Linked DNA regions of Homo sapiens: regions 2 and 3 are each linked to region 1. The links are contacts of gene promoters, found by promoter capture Hi-C in human tissues and cell types (Jung and others, 2019). All regions are on one chromosome and are shown on one strand. Each heading gives the region's core, a stretch centred on a gene start or on the middle of the fragment in contact. The rest is flanking DNA. Distances are from core to core; before and after follow the strand shown. Region 1 holds the start of ZBTB7C (zinc finger and BTB domain containing 7C). Region 2 overlaps ZBTB7C (zinc finger and BTB domain containing 7C). Region 3 overlaps ZBTB7C (zinc finger and BTB domain containing 7C).

What was found. Contacts are between HindIII fragments. The study calls those that stand out against the background at their distance.
Region 2: a fragment that was not itself captured here is called in contact with the fragment with the promoter of ZBTB7C in region 1 in 2 of the 25 tissues and cell types used here (liver and mesendoderm cells).
Region 3: a fragment that was not itself captured here is called in contact with the fragment with the promoter of ZBTB7C in region 1 in 2 of the 25 tissues and cell types used here (dorsolateral prefrontal cortex and thymus).

Annotation. Positions count from the first base shown.
Region 1 is chr18:48,408,026-48,411,164 of GRCh38, forward strand. It overlaps ZBTB7C (zinc finger and BTB domain containing 7C), which reads right to left and starts at 1,358. Exons shown (of 5, transcript NM_001318841.2): 1 at 1,201-1,358. RefSeq lists enhancers at 1-258, 259-876 and a silencer at 2,147-2,526. The HindIII fragment of the contact is 7,054 bases long and covers 1-3,139 here.
Region 2 is chr18:48,277,582-48,280,849 of GRCh38, forward strand. The region is part of intron 2 of ZBTB7C (zinc finger and BTB domain containing 7C); the gene reads right to left. Among named protein-coding and RNA genes, the nearest start is that of ZBTB7C-AS2, 27 kb to the left of the region's middle. The HindIII fragment of the contact is 4,548 bases long and covers 1-3,268 here.
Region 3 is chr18:48,169,833-48,173,360 of GRCh38, forward strand. The region is part of intron 3 of ZBTB7C (zinc finger and BTB domain containing 7C); the gene reads right to left. The region is part of intron 2 of ZBTB7C-AS1 (ZBTB7C antisense RNA 1); the gene reads left to right. It also overlaps the pseudogene RNU6-708P. Among named protein-coding and RNA genes, the nearest start is that of ZBTB7C-AS1, 8.9 kb to the left of the region's middle. RefSeq lists an enhancer at 2,335-2,835. The HindIII fragment of the contact is 8,757 bases long and covers 1-3,528 here.

The DNA of each region.
Region 1 (3,139 bases), core at 108-2,607:
AGGGGTCTTCCCTTCCCACTCCCACTCCTCTTTCTGTCCTAGAAGCACCAGAAACTCCGGCTCTAGCCTTGCGCATGGTCCAGCGAGACTTCCCATACAGGCAGCGCACGCCACCCACCCCCAGCTCCCCTCGGCCTTGCGCCCGCGCCGCGGAAGGTTGGGTACCAGCCTCCACAGCTTTGCAGATTGCAAAGATAACGGGAGCTGCCGCTTCGCTTTTCTTTGGCTCCTCCTGGCCTTCATCCTAGTAAAACCAGACAAGCAACCGGAAAAACAAAGCAGCACAGCGGCCAGAGACAATTCGCTTTCAACGGAGCAAGAGACGTACACACCTTGAGAGAAGACGCACGCAGTTCCCGTGCGTGTCGCTGGGAACAGACCTCGCACTACCCCGCGCGGCGACAGGCACCGGGCCAGGCTCGGCTTCACTTGTCCGAGGCTTGGAGGAACTGTGTGCGTGCGCCCATTTCCCCCAGCTTCCCGACTTGACAGCAGCAAGGATCTTTGAGTCCTGCATGAGCGACACCTCGGGCAAGGACTGTACTCTGCTCAGATCTCATCGAGAGGTGCTGGATCCCAGCCTTTCCAGCTCATTTTCCAATTTTCAAGAAAAGACAGCGCGAAGTGAGACTGCAAAAGTCCCAGGAAAACGTCACTCACCAAAACGCTCCCGCGCCTTCCAGGCAGAAGTGCGGTAAAACTTTTGGCAGAAACCACCTGTGGCTGCCGACGGGCCCGCCCCGCTCGGGCCCGCAGGCGCCGCCGAGCCCCGGGCCGCACGCGCCCGCAGAAGTTCCTTTCCAGCCCCGCGCGCCACTTCGCTCCGGGCCGCGGTGCCAGCCAGGAGGCGCGGCGCCCGCTCGCTGGCTCGCTCTCCGCTGGCTCTCCCCTCCCTCCTTCCCTCCCTCCCTCCTCCCGCCTCCTCCGTTGCATGGCTGCCGCACGGAGCCCCTGAATAGCCACCGCAGCCCCCCGCCTCCTGCCCACCGCGCGGAGGGCGCCCCTGCTCCAGCCGGCGCCCCAAGGCGCGCGGACCGCCGGCCTCCTAGCAACGGCCCCCGCAATCGCTTTCCGGCGCAGCCCAAGCAAAGCCACCCGCCCGCCGCCCCGCGACCTCCCGAACTGCCTCGGCTGCCGAGGTGCTGTGGAGATCGCGACCCCGGCAGCCGGCGCCCGAGCCCGGCGCGCGAAGCCGCTCACCTCCGCGCGCCGCCGGCCCTGCGCGCCTCCCGCACTTGGCTCCGGGACGCAGTCCTGGCGTCCTCCTTCGCCGCCGGTGTCCGCCGGTCCCTGCGCGCCCGAGCCTCGCCGGCCGCGCCGCTGTCAGAGTCTCGTGGCGGGGCTGCGCCGGCGGGTATGGAGCTGAGCGGCGGCAGCGGGCGAGCGGGCAGCTCCTCCCTCCCCGCGCCGCGCCTCCGCCCTCCCCGCGCCCCGCCTCCCGCGCCGCGGCTGTCAGCCCCGCGCCCCGCGCCCCGCGCCCGCGCCGCCGGCTCGGGGGGCGCACAGGGCTAAAGGGCCCGGATGTGTGCGGTCGCCTGTCGCTCGCGCCCGCCCCCTCCCCGCCGCGCGGCACATGCACTTGCTGCGCCGCAGCCCCCGCCCGGCTCCGCTAATTTCTATTTTGACAGTAACTGTGGCGAGTGGGCGGCGCGGCGGGGGGCGCCCGGGACTGGCGGAGGCTGCGGGCGGGAGTCAGGACCCGACGCGGAGGCGGAGTGGGGGGGCCGGGCACCGCCACCAACCGCTCGGGGCTCCGCGTCTTTTCTCTTTCTTTCCTTTTTTCTCTCTGCCTCCTCCAGGATTTAAAGGGACAGCCCCGGCAGAGGCGAGGGGGCCAGGCGGCCGCCGTTTCTCCGGTCTCCTGACGCCCTCTGCGGCCCGGCCGGACCCGCCCGCACCCCCAGCGCAGGCTTGGGACCGCCGGGTATTTTTAGGTCCACACCCGACCCGGGGCAGCGGTGCGGCAGAGATGGGCTCTGCCGACCCGGGGCAGCGGTGCGGCAGAGATGGGCTCTGCCGCCCCGGCGCACGGCTATTTTTACAGAGTCCGATGGGGGAGGAAATAAAACAACTCGGCAACTGCTTTTCTACCCGAAAGTCGGGAGCAAGGAGTGGGGGCGAGAAGTTAAGTTTCCCAAATGCTCTCGGCACTCCAGCGAGCGCACCAAGACGCCTAGCCAGCACCTGAAACCGCAAGCTTGCCGCACCCCGGGGCGCCGAATCTCAGCGGGCAATCGCGCTCGGCGGCGCTGCGGCCCGGAGTCCCCACCCCTCTGGAGCCTTGGGCCCCGCACTCCGCACCCCACACGCCGGGGAGCAGCCGCTGGCCGCCCGTCACTCCCCGGGTCGGCCTGGAAGGCGGCCTTCCGAAGCGTCCAATCACCGCGCAACAATGCCAACGGGCGGGCCCGGGGAGGGCTTGTCCCCGCCCCGTCCCGCCGGGCCCCGCCCCCTCGGAGTCTGTCGGGGCAGGAGAATCTCGCTGGGACGCCGAGTGCTCAGCGGTGCTGGAAGCCACGAAGGGCCAGTGCGAGGGGAGGAGGAAGGGTCCTGGCCCTGGAGAGGGCGTGAGCGTTCTCGGGCGAGGCGACACTTGGGCAGATGTTCCCTCCAGCTACGGGCCGGGGAAACTCGAGCTGGCTTTGCCTCCTACCTTTTTGCAGTCCACCCCTCTGCGCTCCAGACAGACATAGGAACCCTCGCCCTCCTTGGTAGTACATCGGAGGCAGCACCCTCGCACGTCAGCGGGTCCTCTCCGGGGCTCCTCCCTCAGAAGCGGGAAAGTTTGTCGTCCTCAAACTCCTACCCGGCTGCGCTTATCTGAGGCGCACCTGGCGCCCAGGAGAGGCGAGATGGCGAATCCCGGCCGCCTAGTGCCCATTCTGGCTACGGATTAATAAAAGGGCAGTGGGGCTGCTGCTGTGTCCTTTAATGCTGAAGACACTGGATGACATTTTTTACAGAATTCACAAAAATAAGTTTGTGAACCTTTGGTGCCTCTTCCTAATATCACTTATTGGGATTTTTTTTTAAACCATTTCATTCATTCGTGTAATAAACGCACATTGCAAGATAGTACGTTGGGAGTAGTGAAAACAAGGGAAAACGGGCTCTGGAATAGGATGTAAGAGTGGAAAAC
Region 2 (3,268 bases), core at 311-2,810, 130 kb before region 1:
TACGCTGCTTAACCATGTGCAAGGTGCACATTTTATGGCTGCATCATGAAGGGCAACCCCGGCTGGTGAGGACACACCAAAATGTGGGAAACGGGCACTTGGGTTCAGCCGGCTTCACAGTCACGCTGGAGGCTCCCACAACAGAAATCACAAAACATTCCCTCGAGTGCTAAATTTGTAGACAAACATAGTGGTTTATAAGGAACAACAGAGTTCTAGGATTCATCATCTATAGCCACAAAAATACCACATGAGCTTTTTTTTTTTTAAATCGACCCCCTTCCTTTGCGCCAGATAGCAGGTAGCAGCCCCTCTCTTTGAGGATGCAAGGGGGAGGAGGGATTGGAGTGGGAGTAGGGTGAGGTAAAGAGGGACAGGCTCAGAGGTGACAATGGTGAGAAGAAAACCAGCAATGGAGGTGACGGATTATTTCCTGTGATAGACTATTTCCAAAGACAGCCACAGCAATCTCCTATCAAAAGGTGGGTTATGTTTCCCTCCCCCTGAATCTGGACTGGCCATGAGGTTTGTTCTGACCAACAGAATGTGGCACCAATGACCTTCTGGGCTTGACGTGATCTTGCAGCTTCCACTTTGCAGAGGCAGGTTCCTGCCACATGCAAAGAAATCAGGCTGTTCTGCTACAGAGAGAAGCCACAGGAGAAAGAGGCCCCAGAGAATGAGGGGCCATGCAGAGAGGACTAGGCCATGTTCAGAAGGACTGAGGTTCCCAGTCAAGAGCATCTCCAAGGCCCCAGACATGGGAGTGGCACCATCTTGGATCGTCTATCCCCAGTTGAGTAACCCAAGTAGAAGAGAGAAAAGCTGTCTCCACAGAATCCTCCCCAAATTCTTTTTTTTCTTTTTTTTTTTTGAGACAGTCTTGCCCTGTCATCCAGGCTGGAATGCAATGGTGCGATCTTGGCTCACTGCAACCTCCGCCTCCTGGGTTCAAATAATTCTCCAGCCTCCTGAGTAGCTGGGATTACAGATGCCCACCACCATGCCCAGCTAATTTTTGTATTTTTAGTAGAGACAGGGTTTCACCACATTGGCCAGGCTGGTCTCGAACTCCTGACCTCATGATCCACCTGCCTCAGCCTCCCAAAGTGCTGGGATTACAGGCATGAGCCACCGCGTCCAGCCATCCTCCTCAAATTCTGACCTATATGATCATGAGCAAATAGTTGCTTTAAGCCAGTATATTTAGGGCTGGTTTGCCACGTGGCAATAAACAACCGAAACACCGCCTAACTGCTCTCTGCTGTCAACCAGCTCCTCACAGGCTGTCCCCTCAGGGACTGCAATGGGTTTGTGTTTTGATTTTGTTTCTGGATTTTTCTGTGTTGTTTTGCTTTCTTGTTTTTTTTTTTTTTAATTCATCAATTGGAGAATCTTGCTGGAGACAGTGAAAATTAATTTGAGACAGACAAAGCCCTTAAACTGCCTGGCAGGGGAACTGGTATGCTGGGCACACTGTCACACCTTTGTCACACATACTTAGAAGGAAAAAGTCCATGGAACCAGCTCACCCCAGGGCCCAGAGGGCAGCACCATGGAGACGGTCCCCCCGGCACCCCCACTCCTCAGAACACAGACCCCTGACTGTTCTGTGAGAAAACTGCTCCTGCTCCACCATTAAAACGGAATGCCCTGACATCCAGTACTTACAGGCCTTGGTCTCTTTCCAGTCTGAAGTGACAGGCTGGCAGATCCACCAGCCTGGATGCTCCAGGTTCCCTGCCTCCCTGCAGTCATTTCGTGGTCAACATGGCAAAAAAAAGGGGAGGCAAAAGAGGCCATGCTTATTCACACAAAGCTTCAGGCAAGTCTGGCATCCCCTCACATTTGGCTTTAGGCAGATCCAGTAAGATGTGGCAGCCTTTATCACCATGAATCATGTCCAAACTCCAGTGGGGAAATATCCACCCAAACAAAATGAACACAAAGGACTGCACGGGGCCTGGGGTGGTGGTTCTGTCTTCTGATATTAGCACAGCCTGCCTTTTGCAAGGTAGGAGTCAGACAAGGGACAACCTCCCCAAAATGGCCTGCACTTGGCTGATACTAAAATGAAGGCACCCCCAGTCTTAAGCCTCAGGCAGCTCCCCCACTGAAGCCTCACTGGTGGGAGCTGCGCAAAGCAAGCTTCTTGAGCCCCAGGCTGTCCAGGCTACACATCAGCCCCACATTCACAGAAGCAGAGAGCAGGGGAAGCACTGAACCTGCCTCTGCACTGAGTTTGCCTTGACATCTTCATCTGTATGCAGGATTTAAGAGCCTTGAAGAAAGGGGATGAAGGAAATCACAACGCAGTGGATAAGAGCCAAGATGAGCAGATGCGAGTCATTCAAAAGGGGTTGGTAGGGAGAGGAAATAGGTAGGATGCAAAAGAATATTCATCATTCCACAAATTTTTATTGAGCATCTACTATGTGCCAGGCACTGTGCAAGGTGCTAGAGACAGAATGGTAAATAAGACACATTTGGTTCTTGCCCCAAGGAACTCACCCTACAATTAGAATACGGTGTGGTCAGTGCTGTAGGCAGGAGCACAGCCAAGGAGCATGTATTGGAGGGTGCTGAGTGGAGCCAGCTTGTCAGAGAAGGAGGAGTGGGCAGGAAAGGTACCATGGAGGCTGGAGAAAGTGGGAGCACACTGCAGCCTGAGGGTTTCACCGACTCCCGAGACTTCACCCATAACTGAGGGCACTCCTCGACCCCTCCCTGGACTCCCAAGTTCTTATGTCAGGGCCACTGCATCCATCATTCATTGGATTTGGGCTCCATTCCCATTGGTGTTTCTAAAAACATTGCTTCCCTGAAGGCACTAACCTGCTCAAAAGCCTTCAATGGCAATCCACCACTAACAGAATAAACTCCCCAACATCCTGGCCTGGCTTCTCAAGCCCTACACAATCTGCCCCAACCCGTATCAACACACCCAGAACAAAAGGTGCCCACAGAGGAACCCCTAAATCCCTGCTCACAGTCATCTGCACAACCCTGTGACTAGCCACACCCCCAACTCTGACCATATTTGAGAATGTCTCCATCTCTAGACATAAATCCTAGACACAAGGGTCTATATATTCTCATGGTTACACACCTACGGAGCCAGAGTCCCCAGCAAGGCATGACTTGAGAAATCTAGGGAAAGGACCCAGGTCCCAACTAACACTCAGTAGCCAACTGGTCCAAAATCCTCGACTAGCTATTATTCCTTGATTTAAGCACCAGCTTTCCTAGGTAATTTTTTTCTCTCTCT
Region 3 (3,528 bases), core at 718-3,217, 240 kb before region 1:
TATGCTAATCTTCTCTGTATCATTCCTATTCTAGTATATGTGCTGCTGAAGCAAGCACAAAAGTATCCCATTTTGGATGATAAAGTCTCTGTTCTCTCTGTTATGAGGGAGAGTGGACAGAAGGTCTCTGTGTTTCCCTGACTCCATCTACTCTCCCACCCCTCACCTCTCCTGACCTAACAGAAACACAATTAAAATGTCACTTCATTATCTATTCACTGAAAGCCACACTGGAACTGCACTCCCCACAAAGGCCAACTTCCCCCAGCAAAATCCGCCTTAAGGGTGCCCTCATGGCCTGTGCATTGGGGTGATGGGGTTCCCAGCTGCTTAACTGCCTTCCACTATATCACCAGCAAGTGGACCAAAGACCCTGCCTCAGCATTCTTACTGTGCTGAATGATGGGCACCTGCTTGCCAGGCCTGTGCCAAAGAAGCCCTCTACCCACACCCCAAGGGCTAACTAGTATCCAGTCTTCCTATTCTGCAGGGGGCATCTGGACCTGAACAGGGACTCATCCATCAAAGCTCTTGGGGGGCCTGGCAGCCTCTCCAGAGAAGGATGCGCAGACTGAGGTGAGAGCTGGGGTCTCTGAGATCCACCCACCTGCAGAAATGCTGGATTTGAGGGGAGGCAGAGAGGCATCATGAACACAAAGAAAGTTCCCACCCAGAGGAGCTCACCAAACCCGGGGCAGCCTCAGGGATGAGCATTTTCAGACATGTTCAGGAAGACATGGCTGGGATGTTGGATTAGGGGATGGGGCCAGCCCTCCCACTGGTCCTCAGACCTTTAGAGGAGGCCAGGAGGAGAAAAAGAGCCATTGACACCTTAACAGAGTAAGCAGGTACTCTTGGGAGATCCCCTCCACACCTATGAAGTCATTCAAAGCCTGGGATCCGCAGGTGCCTCTCCCAGAGCCTTCCTCAGTTCACTCACCTCACTAGGCCCACCCCACTCCTCTGCACCTGTCCCCTCTGCACTGACAGATGACCGAGAACCCCCCGCCCCTGTACGACTGCAGAGGCCTCTGTGGTTGCTGTCCAGGCCTTTCATGGGAGTGTGGTGCCTTCGCCAGGACTAGCCCTCCCCCTGCCCCACAGGGCAGGGACCCTTCACTTTCTGATCCCACAAGGAGCTGTGCCCTGGGTTCTGCCTATAGCCTACACTCAACTGTCTCTTACCAGCCACCTACCTGAAAGTGGGGCATTAGAATCTGGAACCTAAGGTTGGTAGGTCCCAATCTGCTGGACCTGGACTCAGAGACTCCCTTGGCAGTAGAAGAAGATGGCACCAGGTCTCACTTAACTCTTTCTCTGGCCCTGCCTGAGCCTTGGAGCCCCATGGTCCAGTGCTCACAGGCCTGGCCCCAAGTTAAACAAGAGGACAAAGCCCAGCTTGTGGCTTCTTCCCCGAGCTGGCTGATACCTATTTTCCCTAAAGGAGGAATCCAGGCTGGCTTTGGCCATCTCACCCCCTCCTGGAGAGCAATGGGCATGCCACACTGGGCACTCTTTGAGGTCAGGCACTCAGCCTTCTTTCTTCTGAATTCCTCTCTCCTTCCAGCCCTCACTTCCCCTACCTAGGCCAGGCCCTTCACTCTAGGAAGAATATCCCAGGAATCATCCATCACCAAATTCTAGGAGCTGATCTCAGCAACTATGCGGCTGGAAGGAGCCTGGAAAATCCACTGTGCCCATGATGGGAATGACCATTAATGCCTGGAGGGCAAGGATGCTGTACCCATTCCTGCAGCCCCAGCCCCAGCACAACCCAGACAGAGGGCTCTCAGCAGAGGCTTCCGGAACTGTGCTTGAGTCCTAGCTTGCTGTCTCCATGGCTGCCCTGGAGGCTGGCCCAGAGCAGGCACACAGTAGGCATCTGTGAATGAAGCAACAGGTGCCTGCCGGGTCCTAGCTCCTGGGCTGGGCACTCTGACTACTTTATGTGGGGCAACAGCCCTGCAAGGTAGATACCATCATCCTATTGAATGGATGAGAAAATGGAGGCTCAGACAATTTAAGTGGCTTCCCTGAAGCCACTTGGCAAGTATCAGGCCAGACTTCAAGCTTAATCCTTCCAGTCTCTGAAGACTGTGGTCTTTCTGTTTTCATGTCAGCCACTCAGTCCACGCATTTGGGGATTTCAAAGTCGAATAAGAAGTAGCTCCAGCTCTTGGGTGGTTCATACTGAAAGAGGCAGACAGTTTTGTTCACAGCTACCTGGGACAAGAAACAGACGTGGCCAGGCCTGCACCCAAAGCTGAAACCTATTGTGTAGGCTGCAGGCAGAGGAAGAAGGTCACTGTTCCTCTGTAGTTTGAGAAAGGTATCTGGGAAGAGGTGGCAGTGGATTCGGCCACAGACAGGACATGATGAGGCTAAGGACGCATTGAGGATGGATTTTAAGCTAGTGGGAAGATGGGTGGGAAGATGGGTCTGCATCAGGGGCTTCCCAGTGCCCTTAAATGTCATGATGGCCCGTCAGGCAGCCATTTGCACAGCTTGGTGGAGCAGGCAGGGGGGCACGGAGGGCTGGCGGCTGGGAATCTGCCCAGGACCTGTTAGGTTTCTCAGCCGGAGCTGCAGGCCTGAAGCAGGTAGAAGGGTTGGGAGCTGGGAGCGGAGTCTGTGTGCCCTGTCTCCATGAGTGTGTCTGGGAGATTCGGGTGACCTCCTGGCCTCCATCAGTGGGAGCTGGGGGAGAGGGAGACCAGCGAGCTCTGAAGGACGCACCCGCCACATCGTTGCACACTTATTTTTCCCAAACACTTGACTGACGTGACCCACGGGGCCACAGGGAATGGCCTTCACTGGGCTGGCAAGTCGAGGGCAATGATAGCCCTCAGTTCCTTGGGCGGCCCCTCCCTCAGGGAGCTGGCCCGGGGCGAAGAGGGCCTTGGACTTGCTGCTCTGTCCCAGGCCAGCCTGCCACAGTAGGGGTGGGAAGGGCCGCCTGGTCCTGTCTGCTTCTCGCTTTTTCTGTTTTCAGGGTCAGCACAGTTCAGGGAGGAGACACAGACTGTCGGGAAGGCCTCCTGCAGAGACAGAGGAGCACAGGCACTGTCTAGGGGGTGGTGGGAGGGGACTGTGGGGTGGAACAGCAGCCTCTGGCACAGCCATGAACTCACTGCAGAGTAACTCACTGCAGAGCCTTCCCAGGCCTTGGTTTCTGTTCTGAGAATGGAGGCCTTGGAGCAACTTGAAAGCTCCGACTTTCCTCTAGTTCTTGAACATGCCATCTTCCTCTTCCCAAGATGTTGCCAGACAGGAGTGGACAGTTAGTTTACTTCAGGTTTTGCTAATTTTCTATTCCTACATTGTGATTTGAACAGTTCTGCTGTTAGACCCAAAACCTGATTAAGAAAATCAGTAGATCCCCTCAAAGTCCAAGAAACTCATGATGATTAAGCATCCACTCCACATCAGGCCCCACGCCAACTGAAAAGGTTTATGTGGATTATCTCATTTAATCTTGATATTAACTCTGGGAAGTGGCTGTTATCATCCCCATTTCCCCCAGTTTGG